Linked DNA regions of Homo sapiens: regions 1 and 2 are each linked to region 3. The links are contacts of gene promoters, found by promoter capture Hi-C in human tissues and cell types (Jung and others, 2019). All regions are on one chromosome and are shown on one strand. Each heading gives the region's core, a stretch centred on a gene start or on the middle of the fragment in contact. The rest is flanking DNA. Distances are from core to core; before and after follow the strand shown.

The links. Contacts are between HindIII fragments. The study calls those that stand out against the background at their distance.
Region 1: a fragment that was not itself captured here is called in contact with the fragment with the promoter of GTSF1L in region 3 in 2 of the 25 tissues and cell types used here (mesenchymal stem cells and spleen).
Region 2: a fragment that was not itself captured here is called in contact with the fragment with the promoter of GTSF1L in region 3 in 2 of the 25 tissues and cell types used here (lymphoblastoid cells and spleen).

What each region holds. Positions count from the first base shown.
Region 1 is chr20:43,996,257-44,000,586 of GRCh38, forward strand. All of the region lies in intron 2 of TOX2 (TOX high mobility group box family member 2), which reads left to right. Among named protein-coding and RNA genes, the nearest start is that of TOX2, 84 kb to the left of the region's middle. The HindIII fragment of the contact is 3,567 bases long and covers 1-3,339 here.
Region 2 is chr20:44,191,900-44,196,451 of GRCh38, forward strand. OSER1 (oxidative stress responsive serine rich 1) reads right to left here. Exons shown (of 4, transcript NM_016470.8): 4 at 4,040-4,552. Among named protein-coding and RNA genes, the nearest start is that of JPH2, 7.0 kb to the left of the region's middle. The HindIII fragment of the contact is 3,940 bases long and covers 1,168-4,552 here.
Region 3 is chr20:43,724,988-43,729,493 of GRCh38, forward strand. It overlaps GTSF1L (gametocyte specific factor 1 like), which reads right to left and starts at 2,015. Exons shown (of 1, transcript NM_176791.4): 1 at 1,177-2,015. The coding sequence starts at 1,707. The coding sequence ends at 1,261. It overlaps LOC101927200 (a long non-coding RNA gene), which reads left to right and starts at 3,932. Exons shown (of 4, transcript XR_936741.3): 1 at 3,932-4,140. The HindIII fragment of the contact is 17,400 bases long and covers 1-4,506 here.

The DNA.
Region 1 (4,330 bases), core at 306-2,805, 270 kb after region 3:
TGATCGGTGATGTTGTAGCTGAGATGTTCTTGCTGGTGCGGGTTTTACTTGTTAAAATGGCAAGATGGTAGGGCGACCATATAATTTACTGGCCAAACCAGGACACTGTTTAGAGTGAAATAAAACATTATTAACGTGACACTGGAACAAGAGGCGTGGAGCAGGCCTGCCCTGGCCTAGCCAGGACTCGTGTGTGTTGGGAGGAGCTTGAACAGTGGCAGAGCAAAGCTTTGGCTACTGGTAGGCAGGGCTTCTTGTCCTCATTTTCATAAATGCTACCCATATGACTTTGGATAAGTCATTTTTCCCTTTTGAACCTCAGTTTCCTCATCTGTAAAATGGAAATGCCATTTTCTACTTGTTCTGCATATCATCCGAGGGCTTTTTTTTTCTTGCTTGGGTGTGTGTGTGTGGGATTTATGCTGACTTCCTGTTAATGTGTTTTCCCATCTGTTTCCTGGTATAATTCTCTCAGCTCTTAGGTGGGGTTTTGTAGACAAGGAAACTGAGTAGTAGGCAGTTTGGATAAATTGCCAGAAGCCCTCAGCAAGTAAGATTCCCCATGTCAGTGTAACTCCAAAGCCAGAGCTCTTTCTGCAGATCAACAATGTAACTCTCAATACATGAGAGTTACAGCACCTCATGTTTCCATGTATTTCAAATATTCCTCCCAACAAAGCTGGAAGGTTGTTGGAATACATAATCAGGATTCAACTCTGGGGACACAAGTTGGGTTCTCCCAAGAATCATTTCTCACCATGCATCACCAGGGAGTGAATGCCACTTCTCCTTTTATGCTATACTCCAACTCTCAACAAGCTCTTTGGAAAAAGGTCAAATCACCTGCTACTCCCTCAGTGAATCTTCACCTCTTTCTTATACAGCATTGTGGTGGGAAATGGAGATCGATAGTCAAAATGGCAGCCTGAGAACTTTCATGTAAGCACTAACTGGGATAAAGTAGAAAGCCATCACTAATAAAAGGAACACTTCAACAAGCAGATACAATAACAACTGATTTGTAAATACCTAACAACATAGCTTTGAAATATATGAAGCAATACAGCAGGTTGATAAAATCACAATCACAGTGGAAATTTTTAACACATTTCTCTCAGAAACCAAAGGGTCAAGCAGAAAAAGAAAAGTAATTGTTGTTTGGAAGATTTAAATGATAGAATTAACAAGCTGAAAATTATAAATATTGATCAAAATTAGCCTGATACTGTATCAAAGGAATTCTCAATGGCTTTTAAAGAATTAATATATTTTTCATTCCCTTTTGGGTATCTTTTTCTTTTTTCATGTCAGTGGTTCCTTATTTTATTAGCCTTTTCAAAAAAACAATCTCTTCCTTGTATTTCTTATCTAAAATTTGTTTTCTATTTTATTTTTCTCCTACAGACTTTCGGTTTATTTTGTTATTCTATTTCTACCATCTTGAGTTGAGTGCTGAGTTTGTCTTTCTTGTCTTCTAATAAATTCATTTTGATAAAAGTATAATTTTTCATTGTCCATCTCTCATAAGTTTTGTCAGGTAGTGTTCTCATCATTTCAGTTGTGATTTCCTTTTTAACACAGAAGTTACTTAGATGATTGCTCTTAAAGTGTTTAAGTATGTAGGAGGATTTCCCTCCCTCCATTTTTTTTTCTGCTCGTTTGTTTTTGTTAATAACTAGGTTGGTGCATGTACTAGTCTGTTCTCACATTGCTAGAAAACTACCTGAGACTGGGTAGTTTATAAAGAAAAGAGGTTTAATTGATTCACAGTTCTGCAGGCTCTATAGGAGGCATGGCTAGGGAGGCCTCAGGAAACTTACAATCATGGTAGAAGGGTGAAAGGGAAGCAAGCACATATTCACATGGCAGCAGGAGACAGGGAGATGGGGAAAGGGCTACACACTTTCAAACAACCCGATCTTGTGAGAACTTACTTACTGTCACGAGAACAGCAAGGGGGAAATCAGCCCCCATGATCCAATCACCTTCCACCAGGCCCCTGCCTGAACTCTGAGAATTACAATTTGACATGAGATTTGGGTGGGGATGCAAAGCCAAAGCCTATCAGTGTAGTTAGGTCTTAGAATTTGATCTATCTAATTTCTACCTTTTGAAGAGTTTGAGATTCTCTTTGTAGTTTACCTGGTTATATTTTGTAAGTGTTCTATGGACATTTGAAAGGAATAAATCAAAAGAGTGAATTGCGTCATTCAGATCCTCAATCCTCACTCATTTCTATCTGACTGATTTGCCCATTTTATTTATGGTTTTATACTAACAGTTTTTTACATTTTATATTTCTGTGGTTTTATCAATTTACATAAAAATTTGTCATTTCTTCTTAGTAGATTTATATCATTTATTGACTTAAGTGTTCCTTTTGATATTTTTTAGTGCTTTTTTGCCCTGATTTGTACTTAATTTGTAATTAATTTTGCCACTCTGCTTTTTGTTGGCCTGATACATCTATCTATCTATCTATCTATCTATCTATCTATCTATCTATCTATCTATTTATTTTAAGATGGAGTCTCATTCTGTTACTCAGGATGGAGGGCAGTGGCACAATCTCAGCTCACTGCAACCCCTGCTTCCCGGGTTCAAGGGATTCTCCTGTCTCAGCCTCCTGAGTAGCTGGGATTACAGGCACTCGCCACCATGTCCAGCTAATTTTTGTATTTTTAGTAGAGATGGAGTTTCACCATATTGGCCAGGCTCATCTTGGACTCCTGACCTGAGGTGATCTACCCACCTTGGCCTCTCAAAGTTCTCGGATTACAGGCGTGCGCCACCATGCTCGGCTGGTGTCTATTTATTTTTATCTTACAGGTCATTTTATTTTAGGCATGTCTATTATAAACCATATGCTGTATGTATTTTAATAAAAATATTTTGTCTTTTAATAAAGCAATTGAAATCATTCGTATTATGTTATGAATATTTAGTCTTAATGCTGCCATTTTATGAATATTCTTTATTATGTTTGATAGTTCACTCCTGTTTTCTTTGCAGATTTTTCTAGATTGATAAAGTTCTGTTTTCTTCTACTTTCTTTGGTTCTTCCAATGGTGTAAAATTTTTGCTTTTCCTTAAAATTATAACAAATATTTAATAAATTAATTCATCAAAGTTTCAGGGCAAGATCAGTATGGAAAAATCACTGGTGTTTCTGTAAACCAACAATGAACAACCCATAAAGGAAACTAAAAAAAAATTCCATATATAATAACATCTAAGAGAATAAAATATGTAGGAATAAATTTAACCAGGAAGGGGAAAAACTCCTAAACTGAAAACTACACAACATTGTCAAAAGAAATTAAAGATCTAAATAAATTGAAAGATATCCATGTCTGTGGATTGGAAGACTTAATAATGTTAAGATGGCAATACTATCTGAGCGTCTACAGATTCAATGCAATCTTTATCAAATTTCCACTGGTCTTTTTTGCAGAAATGAAAAATCTGATCCTCAAATTCATATGGAATTGCCAGGGGGCCTGAATAGCACCAGTAATCTTGAAAAATAACAGGCTGGAGGACTCACACTTCCCAATTTCCATAAAGCAACAGTAGTCAAAACAATGTGGTACTGGCATAAGGATAGACATATAGACCAATGGAATAGAATTGAGAGTGTAGAAATAAACCAATACATCTATGGCCAGTTGATTTTATATAGGGGTGTCAAGACCATTCAGTGGGGAAAGAACAGCAGGCTGTGTGGATATTGAGAGCAGAGTATTCTAAAGGAAGGGAACAGCCATTGCAAAGACTCTGGGGCAGAAACGTGCCTGGAGTAGCTGGAGTGGTATGAACAAGGGGAATAGGAGATGATGACGTCAGAGAGGTAAAAAAGGACGTGGGACTGGGGAGAGCAAGACTACATAGCATGGGGCCGTTGTTCCTTATCTGAGTGAGAAGGAGAGCTCTAGAGGGTTGTGAGCAGAGCTTATATTTTAGCAGGATAATTCTGGCCCTGGGGTGAGAATGGACCTTAGCAAAGGTGGAGGCAGGGAGGCCAAGAGGCCAGGGAGGAGACTGCTGCAGTCATCCAGGGCAAAGAGGGTGATGGCTCAAGGTGGAGCTGATGGTATTTTTGGACACATTTCGTGTAGGATGTGAGAGGAAGAGAGGGGTCAAGGGTGACACCTTGGTTTCTGGCCTGAGCAACCAGAAGGATGGAGTGGCCATTAGCTGAGGTGGAGAAGACTGTGGGAGGGGTAGGTTCTCTCTTAAATGTGTTAAGTTGTTTGAGGTATCAATTAACATCCAAAGGGAAGGACAAATAACAGTGGGCTATATGAGTCAGCATTTCAGGGGAAGGTCT
Region 2 (4,552 bases), core at 1,888-4,387, 470 kb after region 3:
AAACTAACACAGGAACAGAAAACCAAACACGTTCTCACTTATAAGTGGGAGCGGAACAATGGAAACACATGGACACAGACAGGGGAACAATGGGGCCTGTGGGTAGGGTGGGGGAACAGGAAGAGAGAGAGCACCAGGATAAATCGCTAATGCATATGGGGCTTAACAGGCTTAATACCTAGGTGATGGGCTGACAGGTGCAGCAAACCACCACGGCACGTGCTTACCTATGTAACAAACCTGCATGCCCTGAACATGTACCTCAGAACTTAAATTATTAAAAAACCTGAGCACCTGCTGTACAGTAGATATTGCAGCTCACCTGTGTCTACCCAGTGCCTGCACATAGTGGCTGCTCCTGGTCTTCCCAGCATCTAGCAGCTGATGACCCCCTTCTGAAATCCTTTTTCAACTGGCTTCTAGAATCTCTCTCGGTTCTGCTCCTGCCTTACTGGTTCCTCCTCATCCCCCTGAGTTCTGTACCTTGGGAATGTCCCAAACCTTCGTTCTCTGGCTTCTTTATCTACATTCATTTCTGAGGAGGTCTCTAGTCACATGGCTTTGCATAACCTCCCTCTACCGATGACTTCGAAGTCTGCATCCCCAGGTTGCACCACTCTCCTGATCTTCAGTCAGACATCCAGCCACCTACTCAACATTTCTAAATATCTCACGAGCATCTCAGATTTGACAAGAACAAATGAAACTCTCAATTTCCACTTGCAAATTTGTCCCTCCAGCCGACTCCAAACTTATTAAAACCTTTGGAGTCAACCTTAATTCCTGTCTTTCTCTCACACCTTAAATCCAGTCCATCGGCAAATCCCTGAAGGGATTTAGATTAAAATAATTCCAGAACAGGCTGGGCACGGTGGCTCACACCTGTAATCCCAACACTCTGGGAGGCAGAGGCAGGTGGATCATGAGGTCGGGAGTTCGAGACCAGCCTGGCCAACATGGCGAAACCCCATCTCTACTAAAAATACAAAAATTAGCCAGGCATGGTGGCATGCACCTGTAGTCCCAGTTACTCAGGAGGCTGAGGCAGGAGAATTGCTTGAACAGGGAGGTGGAGACTGCAATGAGCTGAGATCGCGCCACTGCACTCCAGCCTGAGCAACAGAGCGAGACTCTGTCTAAAAAAAAAAACAAAAACAAAAACAAAAACAAAAAAAACCTTCCAGAACACATATTATCTCCTGCACTGCCAAGTGCCCAAGCCACCAAACCCATTGCCTGACTCACTGAAGTAGCTTCCTAACTGTCCTCCTTGCCTTCCCTTAGTCTGCACATAGTAGCCAGTGCTCTTTCAAAAGGTTAAGTCTCGGCTGGGCATGGTGGCTCATGCCTGTAATCCCAGCACTTTTGGAGGGCAAGGTGGGCAGACTGCCTGAGGTCAGGAGTTTGAGACCAGACTGGCCAAAGTGGCAAAACTCTGTCCCTACTAAACATACAAAAAAATTAGCCAGACATGGTGGTGCACACCTGTGATCCCAGCTACCTGGGAGGCTGAGACACAAAAATTGCTTGAACCCGGGAGGTGGAGGTTGCACTGAGCTGAGATCGTGCCACTGCACTCCAGCCTGGGTGACAGAGCAAGACTCTGTCTCAAAAAAAAAAAAAAGTTAAGTCTGGTCATGTCTCTCTCCTCTGCTTCCCCAAATGACTCCCTATCTCTCACAGTAAGAGCCAAAGAGCCAACACCTTTAAAATAGCCTACCAGGCCCTCCATGATCTGGCCCTACTCATCTCTCTCTGACCCCACCTGCTCAAGTTGCATTGACATCCCTGTGGTTCCTTCTGCCAAGAATGCCCCTCCCTCAGATGCCCCCATGGCTCACTCTCTTACTTCCTTCAGGTCTCTGCTCAAATGTCACCTTATCACAGCATCTTCTCTGCCCACCCCAAATAGCAACCCTATCCCTGGCCCACCCCTTCCTATCTCCTAATTCTTTTTCTCTCCATACAACTTACATGTTCATCACCTCTCTCTACTGAGGACAAGGATATTGTTCTGCTTACTGTTCCATTCCCAGAATCTAGTACAGTGTCCCTGGTGTGTTGTAAGCACTTGATATTTATTGAATGAATGAATGAATGAATGAATGAATGAACGTTCAATGAAAACTTGTTAAATAAAGGCATGTGGAAATCAGGATGTTACTTTTTTGGAACATCAGAGTGAGACTTAATCCCTCAATCCACAAACCAAATCCATTTTCCTAGATGTATCAGAGAAAGGAGATTAGTTTGGTACATCACATTCACAAAAGAACGTCAAATATCCCAATGAGGGACCCTAATGTTAAAGTTGGGCCAATTAGGTCTGAGCAGAGTAATTTTTAACTTCAAGATTCATGTTTTGAGGAAGATTTTGCTGAGATGTAGATAACTTACAACTTATTCCCACAAATCTGGAATGCCTAAACTTTCATGCAAGTTGGATTTTGAGTTACTAGGTCATTGGAACTTTGTGCTTTTCAATACTTACACCCTCCTAACACCTTCATATGAAAAGAATACGTATCATCATTCTCTGGTGACTGCTGCACTAATATACAGCACTAAGTAAATAACCAGAGCGCTGGCTTGAAAAACAAACTAAAAGGGATTTAAAGGCTTAAGAACTCGCCTTAATTCAAAGAACATGTTAAGCCCATGTTAAGCCCACTTAACATGAACTTGAATAGCTCACTACTTAATTACAATAGCTCCACTCCTCTACAGCTTTTATTTTATTTTTGAGACGGAGTCTCGCTCTGTTGCCCAGGCTGGAGTGCAGTGGCGCAATCTTGGCTCACTGCAAGCTCCGCCTCCTGGGTTCACACCATTCTCCTGCCTCAGCCTCTGAGCAGCTGGGACTACAGGCGCCAGCCACCACGCCCGGCTAATTTTTTGTATTTTTAGTAGAGACGGGGTTTCACCGCGTTAGCCAGGATGGTCTCGATCTCCTGACCTTGTGTTCCGCCCGCCTCGGCCTCCCAAAGTGCTGGGATTAAAGGCGTGAGCCACCGTGCCCGGCCCAGTTTTAATTTTTTTAAAGGTGAGCCAAAACATTAGTTGTGGAGGTGAAAGCGGGGTGGTACCTTTACAACCAGAAGCTTAAATTTTGGTCCTGGAATCCCTGAGGCCCTTTTAGGAAATCTGAGGTCAAAATTATTTACATGGTACTAAAACATTACAGGTTGAGGGTCCCTAATCTGAAATGCTTCAAAATCCAGAACTTTTTGAGCACTGACATGAGGAGCAAAGGACATGCTCATTGGAGCAGTTTGGCTTTTAGGATTATGGAAGCTGAACTGATAAGCATGTAATGCAAATCTTTCAAAATCTAAAAAAAATCTGAGATCCGAAACACTTCTGGTCCCAAGCATTTCATATAAGGAATATTCAACCTGTAGTTGCCTTTTTCACATTCATTCTCCCAAGTGTACAAAAGTTTGCCAGAGACCACACAATATGCGATATCCCAGAGACTGAATGCAGAAACATATGAGAATCTGTCTTCTAATTAAGCCAAACATTAAAAAAGATTTGCAAAAAGGTAGAACAATGCCACTCTTCTATTTTTTGTTTTGGAAAAGCTATTTTTCATTCAAAAATTTTGTTAGCTTGTAATGAGTTTTTAAATATTTAAAAAAATCTTAGTTTTAATTTCTAACATGGTAAATATTTATATCCTTTTGGAGATTATAACAAAACCTTTTGGGTCCTGAATTTGTCAGTGTAAAGGAAGTGCTTACAAAAAGTTTGAGAATTTCTGCCTTAGATATACTAAATAGTGTACCTTCTGTCACCATTATCAGGAAATATCTGTCACAGCTTCTAGAACTGTGATAAGGTATTTTGCTCCCTTGCTTTAACCACAGCCTTCAGATGTCACTAAATCCACACCAAACCAATGACCAGCAGAGGACTCCCACTACTACTTAAGCTTAGGGTTTTTCTAGTAAACACCCTTCCCCTCTCCCCCAAGTACAAATCACCTATTTGTTGAAGCCCACATCCCATTATCATGAATCAACCACAGCCAGCGCAGTTTTAGTAAATAGTATAAATGTATTTTGTAATTTAAACAAAAGCTTCTGTTAACATTATTGCTAACATGGCTAGACACTGTCACTAAATTTGGTGGCTCTGCTCAGGATGGTCTGAACACATGCAACATTCTTTTTGGAGCCACCTGAAAAACAAGGATTCATCATCCAGCTGAAACCGAAGACAGATTTTTTTTTTACCAAACTGGAGGGAATTTTGAAATGGCTGACCAAATCTGTGGGATACAGAATGTACAAAATTCTCTTTTAGGGTTGCTGGGGTGACAGGGCAGCTCAAAGAGGTAACCATCTATAACATCTGAAACTGAGGTATGAGACCTGTATTACAACTGATAACAAAAAAAAAAAAAAAAAACCGCCATATATTTAAAATGCTGGAGATGGTGAAGACACACACTCGTTTCAAATATTACACCCCCTCCCTCCAACTGAAGCAGCCCATTCCAAGCTGCTTACTTGAAACTGCATGTAACATGTCTTAGGATGAATAGCAC
Region 3 (4,506 bases), core at 765-3,264:
CAACTCTCCCCAAATGGTGGCATACTGTATAGACTGCTCTGGACTTGTTTTTGTTTTTTCTTTTCTTTTTCCTTTTTTTTTTTTGAGACAAAGTCTCGCTCTGTCACCCAGGCTGGATTGCAATGGCGTGATCTCGGCTAACTGCAGCCTCTGCTCCCGGGTTCAAGCTATTCTCCTGCCTCAGCCTCTTGAGTAGCTGGGATTACAGGTGCCCACCACACGCCCGGCTAAATTTTGTATTTTTAGTAGAGATGGGGTTTTGCCATGTTGGCCAGGCTGGCCTCGAACTCCACACCTCAGGTGATTGGCCCGCCTCCGGCTCCCAAAGTGCTGGGATTACAGGCATGAGCCACCGGGCCCGGCCTGGACTTGGTTTTTATCAGTTAAACTGGGGGTTGGCAAACCATGGCCCACCAGTCAAGTCCAGCCTGCCACCTGTGGCTGTAAGGCATTTTATTGGAACCTCTGTTCATTTGTTTACATATTATATGTGGCTGCTCTCGTGTTGCAGTGGCAGGGCCGAGTAGTTGCAACACAGACTGTGTGGCTGACAAAGGCTAAGATATTTGCCATCTGGCCTTTTACAGAAACAGTTTGCTGACCTCTGAGCTCAACAGTGTGTCTCAACCTTTCTATATCAGCACAGAAAGAGCTTCCTCACTTTTTTTAAGGCGGCATAATATTTTGTTGTATGGCTGCAGTATAACTTATTTTTAATCAGGCCCTTTTAATGGATATTTAGGTCATTTTTGACTTTTTTTTTTGTTGCTTAAGACAGGATCTCACTATGTTGCCCAGGCTGAACTCAAGCGATCCTCTCGCCTCAGCTCCCAGAGTAACAGGCTACAGCTGTGATTCAACACACCTGGCTCATTTCTAACTCTTTTGCTGCTGCAAATAATGCTGCAGTGAATAAGCTAGTACTTAGCTCATTTTCCACATGTGTGATTATATTTACAGAATGAAGCCTGGAAGTGGAATTGCTCAATCAAAGCCTGTATGCATTGATAATGTTTATAGCTATTGTCAAATTGCCCTCTGTGGAGGTTGTACCAACTGACATTCTCACCAATGTTATGAAAGTGCCCATTTTGCCCTACCTTTGCCAGCAGAGTATTTTAAGCCTTTTGATATTTATCAATCTGCCAGGTTAAAAAAAGAGGTAGCCCAGGGTAGTTTACTTTGCATGTCTTTTATTCTGATGCATTGCACGTTCTTCCATGCATTGATGAGGCGTGTGCTCCTTCCTCAGCTGGCAGTTTACTGTCCTGGTCTGAGGATCTTCTGGGGACTGGTCTCTCTTGCTGACTCTTTCGTGTCATTTTCACAAACAACCTTTTGAGGAAAAAAAGTCTTAAGGACAAACACATGCTGGCAATTAGCGCCATCGACATTCCAGATATCGGGGCTGGGAAGGCAGGGTGAGACCTGCTGGGTGTCATCGTTCTGCTCTGAACTAGGAGGACTGACTTTCAGAGGGTTCTCGGTGTCCTCTTCTTCCACAGCGCTCCTGTTGACACAAACAGCCTCATGTTCCTCCAGATTTTTGATGGGGACCACGTGGCAGGCGTTGTATTTGCAGGTGGCCATCTTTTTGGCTTTCTTGGGGTTCTTTCTCCTGCACGATGCCAGGTGGTACTGGAATCTGCTGAGTGGGATTCGGTGGTGAGGATCATAAGGGCAAATTTCAAAGGCTTCTGGCTCCATGAGAAATTCTTGAAGCAGGGTATCTCACTGCTAGAGTCTAACGGAAATGCTTCTTGTGGAGAAGCCCTTTTGTAAGAAGGATGGAGTTGTCCTCTGCCCAGTTTTGGCCCTTGGGATTCTGTAGGTGACGGTCTTAACTTGTGGTCTGTTCTCTAGGACTGTGAGTGGTGGATTAGAAGAGAGATGAGGAGCTGCCAAAAGCAGCTACACAGAGAACAGAGTTAGCAAATGGCACCCGAGACAGAACTATAGCAGATGCAAGAGCCAAAAACCCACAGCCGCTTGACTCACGGATATACTATGATGTCAAGCTGCAGTCACCGGTGGTCACAATGGGCAGCCTAAGTCATCAGGAAGAGGCTATTGTGCACTGCTTGGGAGGGGTGGATGGCTTTGGGAATGCTGCCATCTAAAATTGCTCATGGATGTATGTTGTGACTTAAGTCTTTTAACTGTACGTATTTGTTTTTTGTTTTTGTTTTTGTTTTATTTGAGACAGAGTCTCGCTCTGTTGCCAGGCTGGAGTACAGTGGTGCGATCTTGGCCCACTGCAATCTCCGCCTCCCAGGTTCAAGTGATTCTCCTGCCTCAGGCTCCCGAGTAGCTGGGATTACAGGCACCTGCCATCATGCCCGGCTAATTTTTTGTATTTTTAGTAGAGACGGGTTTCACCATGTTGGCCAGGCTGGTCTTGAACTCCTGACCTCAGGTGATCCACCCGCCTCAGCCCCCCAAAGTGCTGGGATGATAGGTGTGAGCCCCTGCGCTTTGCCAGGGCTGGTTTTTGGATGTGATTCTCAGGGCCGTCTTTCTTTACCCTTCTGCTCTGCTGAGGCCCACAGCAGCCTAGTCTCCTTGGGTGTGGGGGAAGGGTTTAAATCTATTCATATATCGCAGAAGGTGAAGCCTTTTGGTGTTCAGCTTAACATGGGAAACATTTCCTATAAAACGCCCCATCTTAGGTCGACCCTGCCGTTGTCCCTCACAGAACTGGACCAAAGTCTGAATGGACGCAATTGACACATATCTCAGGGTGTTAGTGGTTTTGGTCCTCTGACATTCTATTTACATGTCTGGTGTTAGGTAGGATTTCTTCTAAAAATTGGCCTGGAGCTCCTTCCCACCCCCCACCCTGTTAAATTGTTTCTCAAGATCTGAGTGACAGTAGAGAAATACCATATTCCTGAATAGGAAGACTCAAAATCATAAATGAATATTCTCTGTAAACTAAATTACATAAATTACATAGTCATCCTAAATTGATACATAAATATAATGCAATTCCAAATAATTTTTGTAGCTTTATGTGCTGATATCTGATAGAGCAAGTCTCTGCTTGTTATTAGTTTTCCCCCCAAAAGCCTTGACTATCTTCAAGGATTTGTTATTCTAGATCATGTGTCAACAAACTATGGGCCCATGATTCAAATCCAGATGGCTATCTGCTTTTGTAAATAAAGTTTTATTGAAGCACAGCCACACCCATTTGTTTATATATTGTCCATTGGCTGCTTTTGAGCTAGATTTGAGTAGTTGCAACAGAATCCAGATGACCTAGAAACCTCTAATGTTTTCTGTCTGGCCCATTATAGAAAAAGCTCACCCATCCTATTCTTGGTGGTGGTTAAGGAAGCTGACTGTATTCAAATTCTACCTCCTGCCACTTACCAGCCATGTGACCTTGGGGAAGGTGTGTGTGTGAGTGTGTGTGTGTGTATGTGTGTGTGTGTGTTTCCTGGTATTTACTAAGCTCTATTGATGGTGTCTTTTCAGGTAGGCTTTGTAGTTTTCTTTCTATTTTTTGCACGTTAAAAAAAAATTAATCTATGATGCTTTATGGTTTTTTCTTTTTCTTTTTTTTTTGTCATTGTAAATGACACTTTTTCCATCTCTCCACATCCTAGCTATGGTGTTCAGCCTTTTTTGAGAATTGAAGTGATTGGCTTTGTCTACATTGTTACATAATTGCAACTGATCATACATGTGGGATGTCTTGTTACTATCATATGACATGCAGACAATTTAGCAACATGACACTCACTGATGTCATAGTAAGAAATTGTAATGGGAACCCAGGTATAGACAAAAGATTAGACAAAGGATTCTAAAAAAAGGCATCTTTCATAACTACACCATTTATTCTGGGTGTGCCAGTCAGGATAGGCAAGGTTAGGCTGCAATAACGTACAGTGCCAAAACTTCAGTAGCTTAAAACAACGAAGGCTTATGAGTCACTTTCAAGTCTAAAGCAGGTTTCTGGGTTGGGGAGGGGTATTGGGGATCTGCTCCTTGTGGTTAATGGAGCCAGGCTGATGGAGCCTCCATAGCAACACTTGCTTCCTTCTAGAAGAAGGAAGAGGATGTGGGGAGTCATGCGCGAGCTTCCACCAGGAAATGATAAACATCACTTCCGCTACTGTTTCATGGTTCAAAGTAAGTCCTACCTAACTTCAAAGAGCAAGGAGGTACGGTCTTTCCACATGCCCAGAAGGAGGAGAATAGGAACTTTGGGAAGTCCTGAGGGCTTCCCCAGTCTGCCCTTCTCGTCACCAGCATTCATTTCTCTTTTCTCCACACACACGGAGCATATTCTTCCCCATGGAAGAAAACCCAAAGTCCTAGCTCAGAGTGGGGGATCAATGGCTTACTCAGTGCTCTCCTGGGGCTTCTTGAGATCTTGAGATCTGGCTCTTACCCCAGACCAGTGGAATTCTAGTGCCTCAAACCAAGCTGGCTCCTATGAGGAGTATGAGGCCAAGAAGTTGTGTTCCCTGTACCCCAACCCACTCACCCTAGGGA